Regions from separate parts of the Homo sapiens genome. Here regions 2 and 3 are each linked to region 1. Evidence: promoter capture Hi-C in human tissues and cell types (Jung and others, 2019). All regions are on one chromosome and are shown on one strand. The core of a region is centred on a gene start or on the middle of the fragment in contact, and the rest is flanking DNA. Distances in the headings are between cores, read along the strand shown.

Region 1 (3,300 bases), core at 229-2,728:
GCTTATGGGCTAGGTGGGAAGAACCTCAGACCCTAAACTGGGTCACAAAGAGCCAAAGGAGTCTTCATTATTGGAGCTGGAGAAGTTGGGCCATGTTCCATGGAGGAGGTAGGCTTGAGTAGACGGAAAGGAGAGGGCATGTCATGCACAGGGCACAGCGTGGAGGGCACACAGACCTGTACAGGGCTGCACTGGGAGATGAGGGTGGGATGGGGCAGGAGTGCGGAGTGGGGGAAGCCTGATGGGAGAGTCCACTGGAAGCAAAGGAGAGGGCCCTCCCCTCTTCTCACCAATCTGGTGCCGCCCAGTGATCCGCACAGGGCCAGAGCCCGACTTCAGGCGGAAGGTTACAGGTGGTTGGAGCTGGAAGTCATCCAGACTGAGCTGGGAGGAAGACAAGGATGAAGGCCTGGCCCACTCCTAGCCCACCCCACACTGTAATGAGTGCTAACGTCCTCAATCCCCTCACCACCACCACCACCACCACCAAGGCAGAGCTGGGGAACTCACCATGGGTTGGCAGGACAGCTTGAGGTTGGCCACAGGGACTGCGATCTCCTGATGGTCATGGTTCCGGGCCACAACTTCTACCACATTACACTCGTCTTTGGCTCCCTCGGTGAGGCAGAGCTGGGAACGGTACACAGGGCCTCAGGGTCTCCTCAAGTGAGGGTTGACACCACAACTAAAGGCATCTACCCTAGCACCTGCCCAGCCTCAGAGGTCCCGGTTCACCTGGCCAGGGGAGCCGCCCATGCCGGGGGGTTAGGCTGAGGATGTGTCTCCAAGTAAAGGGGATCCGGAGGTTGGGTAGAGACCTATATTGCCTGCCTGGGCTTATTCATTAAAACCCCACTCCCCTGCCCCTCACCATGGTTAGTGCCAGCACGTGCTCCGCATCATCCTCTTCCTCTACCTTAAAGGTGAAGGAGCGGGTGTGGCCGGAGAGCTCACAGCCTGGTAGAAATAACAGTGAGTATGCCTGAGCGTGTGTACGGGGCTGGGCAGCGGGGGATGTCACCAACCCGCCGTCACGTGTAACCTTGGGCGGACGGGTCATTTACACGTCCACCTCCGTCTCTTCTCTCAGAACACCTGGGACGCTCTGCCGTGGGCCCCGCCCAACACATCTGGGGCAGGGATCTCGCCACCCCCTTTGGCTGTGCGTGCGAGGCCCCCTCTCCTGCGGGAACAGCGAAGCAGCCCTCCGCCCACACCCACGCCTTGAAACCCTCCGCATTCCCGCCTCACATCCCTACCTCTTACCGCCCCAGTACCACCCTCAGCCTCTCCCTTCACTAATACCGAAGAAAAAACTGTCCATAGTGACCGGGGCCGGGACCCGTAGGCCCCCGACACCCCCGGCCCGCGTTCGGCTCTCCTGACTCAAAAACGCTAAGGCAGCTGCAGTACCGGCGGCCATGCTGTAAGAGCCTTCTTCAAACTCCGCCCCCGACACGCACAAAGCCGGGGACCCTCGGCCAGTTCCGGCCCCGCCCATTAAAGGAGACGCACAGTCCTGGAAAAGAAAAGGCGCCGAGACCCCGCAGCCCTACCCGGAGCCCGCAGCTTCTGCTCATATTTTATCAAGACCGAAGAGAAAGGAAGTAACATCACAGAAGAATGGATTTGGGGTTTATGTTAACATCCTTGCTCATTTCCACGACCATGAGGGTGTCCACTTCCCCAAGCTCCTCGCTCTGTGTCGGAAGAGTGTCTCCCACTCTTCCAACCCAGGGTAAGCTTTCGTTAAAGGAGTTATAGATATAAAAATGTAAACCCTTCTTACTCCTCCCAGCAAAGGTGGGGTTCAGGGCAGTGCTTTTCTGCTACAAGCAAAGGAAATGCACTCAGATTGTCTTTGCCTCAAGAGAGCCGAGGAGCCTTAGGAATTTCCATCCCAACACGTCTGTCCTGTCTGTCCTCTCGGCTAAGCCTCTCTTAATTCTTCCTGCTCTAAAGACCCCGCAACTTGCTATGCCTTCACTGAGACTTAGCTGCTGGCACTTGCTAGCAGAGGACTAGTTAGCTCATGTGTGTTGGCTGTTCCTGGCCCACCCACGCTTTTTGAGCTTTTAATTCCAAATCATCCAGGAGTATCTTTGCGCCGTGGATTATTTTGTCAGTTTATGCTACTCGCGCCATCTTTCGCCTTTTAAGAATCAGGCAAACTGTGTGCTTTCTATCCTAATAGATGGCAAAACTCAAACTAGAGGCCCTATTTCACATCCAGGTTATAACTGTGGCAAGAGGGTGGGGTGGCTTGGCTAAAAACTAGTCTACTTTTCTTAGCTCTTGTCTTAATGAAAATCTGGAAGTCTTACTGGTGATGGAGGTAGGGGAGGGCTGCCTTCAAGATCCAATCTCTAACTTGGAACAGCTGTGGAGAGGAGAGAATACCTGCTTGTAGGTGAGGCATGAAAGAGGAGAAAAGGGAGGGGGCAGACAGGAAATAGATTCACACAATACAACACGACAAGCATTCACTTCAAGTTTTATTTTGCCTCTTGCATGGTCTTTTACAGTTCGTTTTCTACAGGAACTGAGCTCTGATCCAAACAATCAATAAAAATGTAATTCCAACCTTAATATTCATAACCAGGAAATAGCATAGCACTTCATGATCCTAGAGTGATGAAAGCAAGACCAGGGCATCTGTTTCACAGTCACCTGTGACCAGACCAGCCAACATGATTACTAAAAGCCAAGATAAAACCAAAAGCAAACTTGCTAAAAAATCCTGAATTCCATGAGGTTAACTCTGAAATCCTCCAAACAAAATGCTAGAATTGTCCACTAGTGTTAAGACGAGAAAACTGAGGAAAACTCAGCTGTCTTACTATCTGGTAAGAGTCTTCCCTTCATCTCAAGCCCTCAAAAATGCAAACTTGGTTCCAGCTTTACAACATACCATATCCTTCTATCGGTTAAAGGTTTCTAACCTAAAAACCTTCTCTCCTTTCTTCTCACCTATTTAGTGCATACTCAAAGGCTTTGGTTGGAAGTCACTAGGTACCACTAGGTACAATGCTTTAGGGCTCTCTCAAAGCCCACAATGGTGGAGTTCTGTGAAAGAAAACTTAAGTTTCTTTCTCTTTACCCCTCTCCCCTCACTCAGCTCAAAGTTAAACAGCTGATGCAAAACTACAGAGAAGCAAGATAACAAAATACTGTTATCAATCTATGGAGAAATCAGCCAGCCATGATGAAAAAATGAGTCCTGCCGACTATCTGCCAGCTTCATGCTCAGAACCCTTAAAAACACAGAATCTAAATTAAAATACATGAAGCTTTCACAAT
Region 2 (3,300 bases), core at 440-2,939, 160 kb before region 1:
CAGAAGACAGAAAGGCAGAAAAAGTCCAGGCGCAGTGGCTCACACCTGTAATCCCAGCACTTTGGGAGGCCGAGGCAGGTGGATCACGAGGTCAGGAGATCGAGACCATCCTGGCTAAGACGGTGTAAACCCTGTCTCTACTAAAAATACAAAAAATTAGCCAGGCGCGGTGGCAGGCACCTGTAGTCCCAGCTACTCGGGAGGCTGAGGCAGGAGGATGGCGTGAACCCGGGAGGCGGAGTTTGCAGTGAGCCGAGATAGCACCACTGTACTCCACCCTGGGTAATAGAGCAAGACTCTGTCTCAAAAAAAAAAAAAAAGAAGAGGAAGGGGGAAGGGGACAGCCAAGCTCCTTGCCATTTAGGCAACGGCTGTGTGCCTGTGGCTGCCTTCTGACCTGTGTGCTCCAGCTAGCAACTGCCCCTCCATCCCTGTTCCAGCCCAGCCTGCAAGGAGAACAGTCTCTAGTGGTCTTGATGGAATGAGGGGCTGAGGGAACAATGGTGACCCTGAAAGGGGTCCAGGTTCTGTGAGAAGCAGCATTGGCTGTCTGAGGGTGAGTAGCTGAGAGACACACATAGACGTGGGTGATGGCTCCCCTGATGGGAGCGCTGGTGCCCAGTGGGTGGCTACAGCTTTGAATGTGTCCCAGCCCCCACCATCATCCAGGGTATAGCAATGCTTAGGGCAAACTGCCCCTCCAGTACTCCCCGCTCTCTGCCCAAGCCCCAGCACATACATAAAAGAGAAAATCCAGGCGCTCCTCAAGTTGCAGCAGTGACAGGTTAAAAGCAAAGAATCCATCCAGCACCGCTCACCGCCCAACCCCAAGTCCTGCCGGCAATGCTGCTCCACCTCTCGGATTGGCCTGTCAGTCAGGCTTTGGTGTTACTGAAAGATCAAACTTTGTCCTGCCTGTTCATTACCTTAATCCTATTTTCTACATGGCTTTATTATCTACTTGGGCTTCTCTGGGAAAGACAGCTCTAGAGAGTCATCCTGTCCATCCATTTCCTCCCACCAAAAGCAAATGCCTCCACCAGGGCATCTTTCCTCAATCGCTGTACCACTTGGTCCTCCAAGCTTCTCTGGGGACAGGACAGATGTTTAAACAAAGCCTGGTTCCTCCCAGTGGATGAACCTGGGGCTGGAGAGAAGGCACTGCCAAGTGGTGCCCAGGGCAACCCTGCCACAAGCAGCAGAGCCCACAGGCTGGCCAGAGCGGGCAGGGCTGTTTCTTCTCAGGCTCCAGGAAGAACTGAGGCCATAGTTGTTTGTTTTGTTCTGTTTTTAATTTTTTTTTGATAAGAAACAAGGTCTCACCATATTGCCCAGGCTACTCTCAAACTCCTGAGCTCAAGCGATCCTACTGCCTCAGTCTCTCAAAGTGCTCGGATTCCAGGCATGAGCCACCATGCCTGGCTAATCACTGTCTCATACCTATTCTCATTAGAGTCCATTCTGGTTTCAATAAAGACCCAGTGTTTGGGGTTAATGAGATCTAGGGGTTTCATAAGAGAATAACAGTCAAATAAATGGTGCCTTAGAACTCCATCCTGACCATAAATCTGTACCGAAGAGTACCCTTCACCAAGGCAACCATAGGCAGAAGAGGCCATTCAAAGATTACCCAACATTTGAGATGATGCTGGGTCACAGTGGTGTACCCAGCCCGCCACCCGGCTTGTGTGTCATCCTGGGCCCAGGCAGGTGATGATGCCAAACACAAGGCCCAGCTATGTAACCAAGTAAAAACTTTCATCAGAATGCCCATCTTTGTGACCCACAGCCCATTGTCAAGAGCCTTCCCTGTGCCAGGAGTTCAGCAGGTTCACCTCCGCCTCCACTAGTCACTAAGACACGGATATTTTAAGAATTAAAAGCCTCCACAAGCCAGGCACAATGGCTTACACCTATAATCCCACAACTTTGGGAGGCCAAGGTGGGAGGATCACTTGAGCCAACGAGTTCGAGACCAGCCTGGGCAACATAGCGAGACCTTGTCTCTACAAAAAAATTTAAAAGTTAGCCAAGCATGGTGGGGCATGTCTATAGTCCTAACTACTTGGGAGGCTGAGGCAGAAGGACCATTTGAGCCCAGGAGTTCAAGGCTGCGGTGAGCCGTGATGATGCCACTGCACTCCAGCCTGGGTGACAGAGCAAGTCCCTGTCTCTCAAGAAAAAAAGAAGCTTCCACAAACTCCGAGGTACTAGTTTGGGTGGGAAGGAAGAGCAGGAAAGAGACAGCTTGCATTAGTTGAATGCCTCCAAGGTGACAGGCACTGTATGGGAAACTCTTTCACGATAATTTTGTTCATACCAGTTCTGTTAGGTAGGGATAATTAATTTCCACTTTACAAATGAGGAAACTGAAGCTCAGAGGGCCCCAGATCACAGCAAGAGGCACAGATAAGTTATGGCTAACTTATCTACTATGTTAATGAGAAACAACTGAAGGACCTAGAACTTTTGGCCTGAAGAAGAGGAGGCCCTGGAAGAGCAGAACCAAGGTTTTCAGATATTTAAAAGTCTGTTCTTCAGGAGAGAGGTTCAACTTGCTTGTCTCTTGTCTAGGATCACAGCTTCAGGGAGCAAATCAATCCATGATAAAGGGTGGGCATTCTCACTCACAGAGCTACCAAAAGACGGAATGGTTGTTTGGGGAAGTAGGGAGTTTCCCATCCCTGTTCTTGGATGACTATCAAAAGAGAATGTTGAAGGAAAAAAACCATGATTCATTGATTAAAACATCTCATGTTGTTTTAAAAATTTTGAAAAGACTGACTATAGAATGGATTTTTCAAAAAAAAAAAAAAAAGCTATGGCTAATGCTTTCCTACAGAGATGGAGAAAAATGGAGAAGACAAAGCTACAGCAACTGAGGAAGCAGGTGAGAAGAGCATCTTCGCCAGTGCTGTCAAATGTGGCATTTAAGACACAGACCACATGTGGGGCCTAGGGCAAGGTGAAGAGTTCTTAGACTTGACACCAAAGGCACAGTCAATAAAAGAAAAAGTCAATAATTTAGATTCCATCAAAATTTTAAACATTTGCTCTTCAAAAGACCCTGTTAAGAGGATAAAAAGACAAGCAGCCGGGTGCGGTGGCTCACGCCTGTAATCCCAGCACTTTGGGAGGCCGAGGCAGGCTGATCACGAGGTCAGGAGATCGAGACCATCCTGGCTAACACAGTGAAATCCTGTCTCTACTAAAAGATACAAAAAATTAGCCAGGTGTGGTGGCAGGTACCTGTAGTCCCAGCTACTTGGGAGTCTGAGGCAGGAGAATGGCGTGAACTCA
Region 3 (3,300 bases), core at 245-2,744, 140 kb before region 1:
AATGTATAATGTGAGCCTAAAACAAAGCAGAACCATATATCTATATATGTACACATATTGATGAAACTATATGATATCTGCTATTTGCTTCAAATGAAAAGATCTGGAATGACACATACTGGATGTCCTGCAAAAAAAAAAAAAAAAGAGTAGGATAACGGGAGGGGACACAGGTCACTGAAGGAGATTTTTCCTTTCTATTCTATATATTTTAAATTGTTTGAATTTTTACAATTAGAACATATTTATGTATCACTTATGTATAAAACAACAAAACAGAAATTAAGAAATTAAAAGAATGGTAATCAAAATACTCATTTTGAAGTTACCTGAAAGATGTGTTGCATATTAGTAGCACACTGAATTAAATGTGATTCTGATTATTGCACAAACCACATGATATCTTGGCTCCATCCGGGACTTGACAGAGACCCTTTACCTCGATGGCTTTCTGAGTGGTGAAAGCCTGGGAACAGCTGCCTATGAGAATTCCAGTTTTCCGGCAGCTCTGACAGTGCTTTCCCCCAAACTTCTGCTTCATAACCACTCTGTTTGTAAAGAGATGCTATGCGTCATGAATTATACACAGTAGGACTACAGAAGTAGGATCCATGACAATAAGAGCTACTGTATCTATGTACACAATAGGTAAAGCCTATCCCTCACAAGAAAGGAGTGCTCCATTTGTAGAGGAGTGCCAGCAGCAAGCCCTGGTGCACGTGTCAACTCCCTGCAGTTTAATCCCAAATCATGCAGCTTGCTAATCATTTTCCTTTGGAGGAAGCCTGGGCAGGCCAGACCTGTGCCATCCCAGGACTTGGTTCCAGTCTCTCTCTGCCCCTCAGGGAGGGTGCTAGGCCACTGCTCATTCATACAACCTCAGGTGTCTGCAACCAGGTTCTTTCTCTGTGCATGTCACATTAGAATATGGCGGGTTTTGCTAAGGACACCATCAACAGCTTACAAAGGAGGAATCCTTATTTGCTGACTAGTAATAATGTGAGGGGGAGGAGGTCAAAGGCTGTACAACAGTTCCTATCAGACTCTTCACTTTGTTTAAGAGTTGGTAGCCAAGGTCTCTGAGCTCAGTCACCATTCACATAGACACTTTGGGACTGGACATCATGGAGTCATTTGGCCTTTATCCAACTAGTAGACACCTATTGTTCTGTGTGCCCACATTCTCCCTCCATATATGTGATTCCTGAGAGATCCACCATGTTCTTACATGACTTTCCCTCCCTGGCCACAGTTAATTAATCAAGAGATGCGCAGCTGACCCAAAACTGGCCTGGGATTTTTGGAAGCCAGTCACTCTCTCTGATTTAAGCCATGAGCTGCCAAACTCAGGAGCACTTGGCAGCCTCATGGAATAAGCTGGTCAGCTTGGAGAAAGGAAGGAGCTAAGAACCATAAAGAAAGAGATGAGCACCCCAGAAGGATAAAGCCATGGCAGCACTATGGCCTCTGGTTCAGCTAGTCCCAAGGGTGTATTTCAGTTCTGCCTTTGGCTTGGTTTTTCACCTTTTCCCTTGGATTTCATGAGCCAAATATTCTGTTTTATTTATGTGAATTTGAATTTGGTTTCTGTCACTTACAATAAATGTGTCCTGAGTAATATAGAGCCTCTGTTCAGTAACTGCTCGGCTTCTCACCCAACTGAATGTCCTCACTGAGAGATGAGCAAAGGGCTTTGCCAGGCCTCTACTGGACACCTTGGGGCCTAAGAAGATACTTCAACCACAAAATTAATACCTGGTAGGTCTTCTAGGAGAGCAGATGAAACAGAACCACACAGGCTGGCCTGGAACTTCAGAAAGGAGATGAGGTGTTCTCTTATACCAATGCCTAAGAACAGTGCCAGGAAAAATCTACCTGCCCACTCCCAGTAGGGGGTGAGGAGATGGTCTGGACAACAGAAAATAACAAGGATGCTGCTTGAGGGATGGGAGTCTAGTCTTCAAGGGACAAGGCCCTGATCTTCAGAGATTTGGTCCCTTGAATCCCTTTTTATGGACTGATGAGACTGAATGTTCTACTGGAAACCACATGACTCATTCTAATGGGGCAGAGTTTGGTTTACTCTCAAACCCTTCCATTTTCTTTTCTTTTCTTTCTTTCTTTCTCTTTTTTTTTTTTTTTTTTTTTTTGAGAGAGAGAGTCTCACTCTGTTGCCCAGGCTGGAGTGCAGTGGCATGATCTTGGCTCACTGCAACCTCTGCTTCCTGGGTTCAAGCGATTCTTGTGTCTTAGCCTCCCAAATAGATGGGATTACAGGCATGTGCTACCATCCCCAGCTAATTTTTTTTTTTTTTTTTAAGTAGAGATTGGGTTTTGCTGTATTGGTCTCAAATGGTCTCAAACTCCTGGCTGGTCTCACGCTCCTGGCCTCAAGTGATCCACCTGCCTCGGCCTCCCAAAGTGTTGGGATTACAGGTATGAGCCACCCTGCCCAACCTAGACTCTTCCTTCCCCCACCCCCGCCTTTTTTGAGACCAAGTCTCACTCTGTCGCTCAGGCTGGAGTACAATGGTGTGATCTTGGCTCACTGCAACCTCCACCTCCCAGGTTCAAGCAATTCTTCTGCCTCAGCCTCCCGAGTAGCTGGGATTACTGGCACCCGCCACCACACCCAGCTAATTTTTGTATTTTTAGTAGAGATGGGGTTTCACCATGTTGGCCAGGCTGGTGTCGAACTCCTGACCTCAGGTGATCCACCCACCTCGGCCTCCCAAAGTGCTGGGATTACAGGCATGAGCCACCGCGCCCAGCCAACCCTTCCATTTTCAACAACCATAATGCCAGGCATTTAAGAGATAGATAATTTAAATATATTTTCCACGTATTCATCTAATTTTAATTAAAAGCATGCACAATTGGATAGGAGAATCTTTGAGGGGGAAAAAAGGAAAAAAAGCATGCATAAAATAATTAAGATGGTGATGGAAAACACAGGGGTTAATTTTACTATTTTTCTCTTTATCTTTGAAAATTTTCAGAATTAAAGTTTAAAAATACACATCCACAATCAAAACCAATTGACTGTGATCTTTCTTTGTAACCCCAAGCAACTCCTTTGTTACAACTTCTTTTATCTCTTCTCCACCCTGACCTGGTACAAATGACCCAAAAACTAAGGGAAAAATAAATCTGACTATAGGAGCAAACTCAAATATTCTACTTCTGAATCCCTCTGAGTGACATGTGCACACAAACACAAAACACAAGAGAAACCAAGCAGAAAATTCACATAGTGCATGTAAGATTTTTTCTCAAAAAAAAACAAAACAATACACATAC

Evidence for each region. The method cuts DNA at HindIII sites, captures the fragments that hold promoters and counts their contacts. A contact is called where the count stands out against the background at its distance.
Region 2: a contact is called between a fragment that was not itself captured here and the fragment with the promoter of NPM3 in region 1, in 3 of the 25 tissues and cell types used here (H1 embryonic stem cells, lymphoblastoid cells and neural progenitor cells).
Region 3: a contact is called between a fragment that was not itself captured here and the fragment with the promoter of NPM3 in region 1, in 3 of the 25 tissues and cell types used here (mesenchymal stem cells, mesendoderm cells and thymus).

What each region holds. Positions count from the first base shown.
Region 1 is chr10:101,781,968-101,785,267 of GRCh38, forward strand. NPM3 (nucleophosmin/nucleoplasmin 3) reads right to left here and starts at 1,479. Exons shown (of 6, transcript NM_006993.3): 1 at 1,306-1,479; 2 at 872-957; 3 at 511-630; 4 at 291-384. The coding sequence starts at 1,423. OGA (O-GlcNAcase) reads right to left here. Exons shown (of 16, transcript NM_012215.5): 16 at 2,483-3,300. RefSeq lists an enhancer at 407-1,046. The HindIII fragment of the contact is 4,177 bases long and covers 1-2,516 here.
Region 2 is chr10:101,619,354-101,622,653 of GRCh38, forward strand. The region is part of intron 6 of FBXW4 (F-box and WD repeat domain containing 4); the gene reads right to left. Among named protein-coding and RNA genes, the nearest start is that of MIR3158-2, 20 kb to the left of the region's middle. RefSeq lists enhancers at 1-41, 87-588. The HindIII fragment of the contact is 4,149 bases long and covers 1-3,300 here.
Region 3 is chr10:101,638,358-101,641,657 of GRCh38, forward strand. The region is part of intron 5 of FBXW4 (F-box and WD repeat domain containing 4); the gene reads right to left. Among named protein-coding and RNA genes, the nearest start is that of MIR3158-2, 39 kb to the left of the region's middle. The HindIII fragment of the contact is 6,712 bases long and covers 1-3,300 here.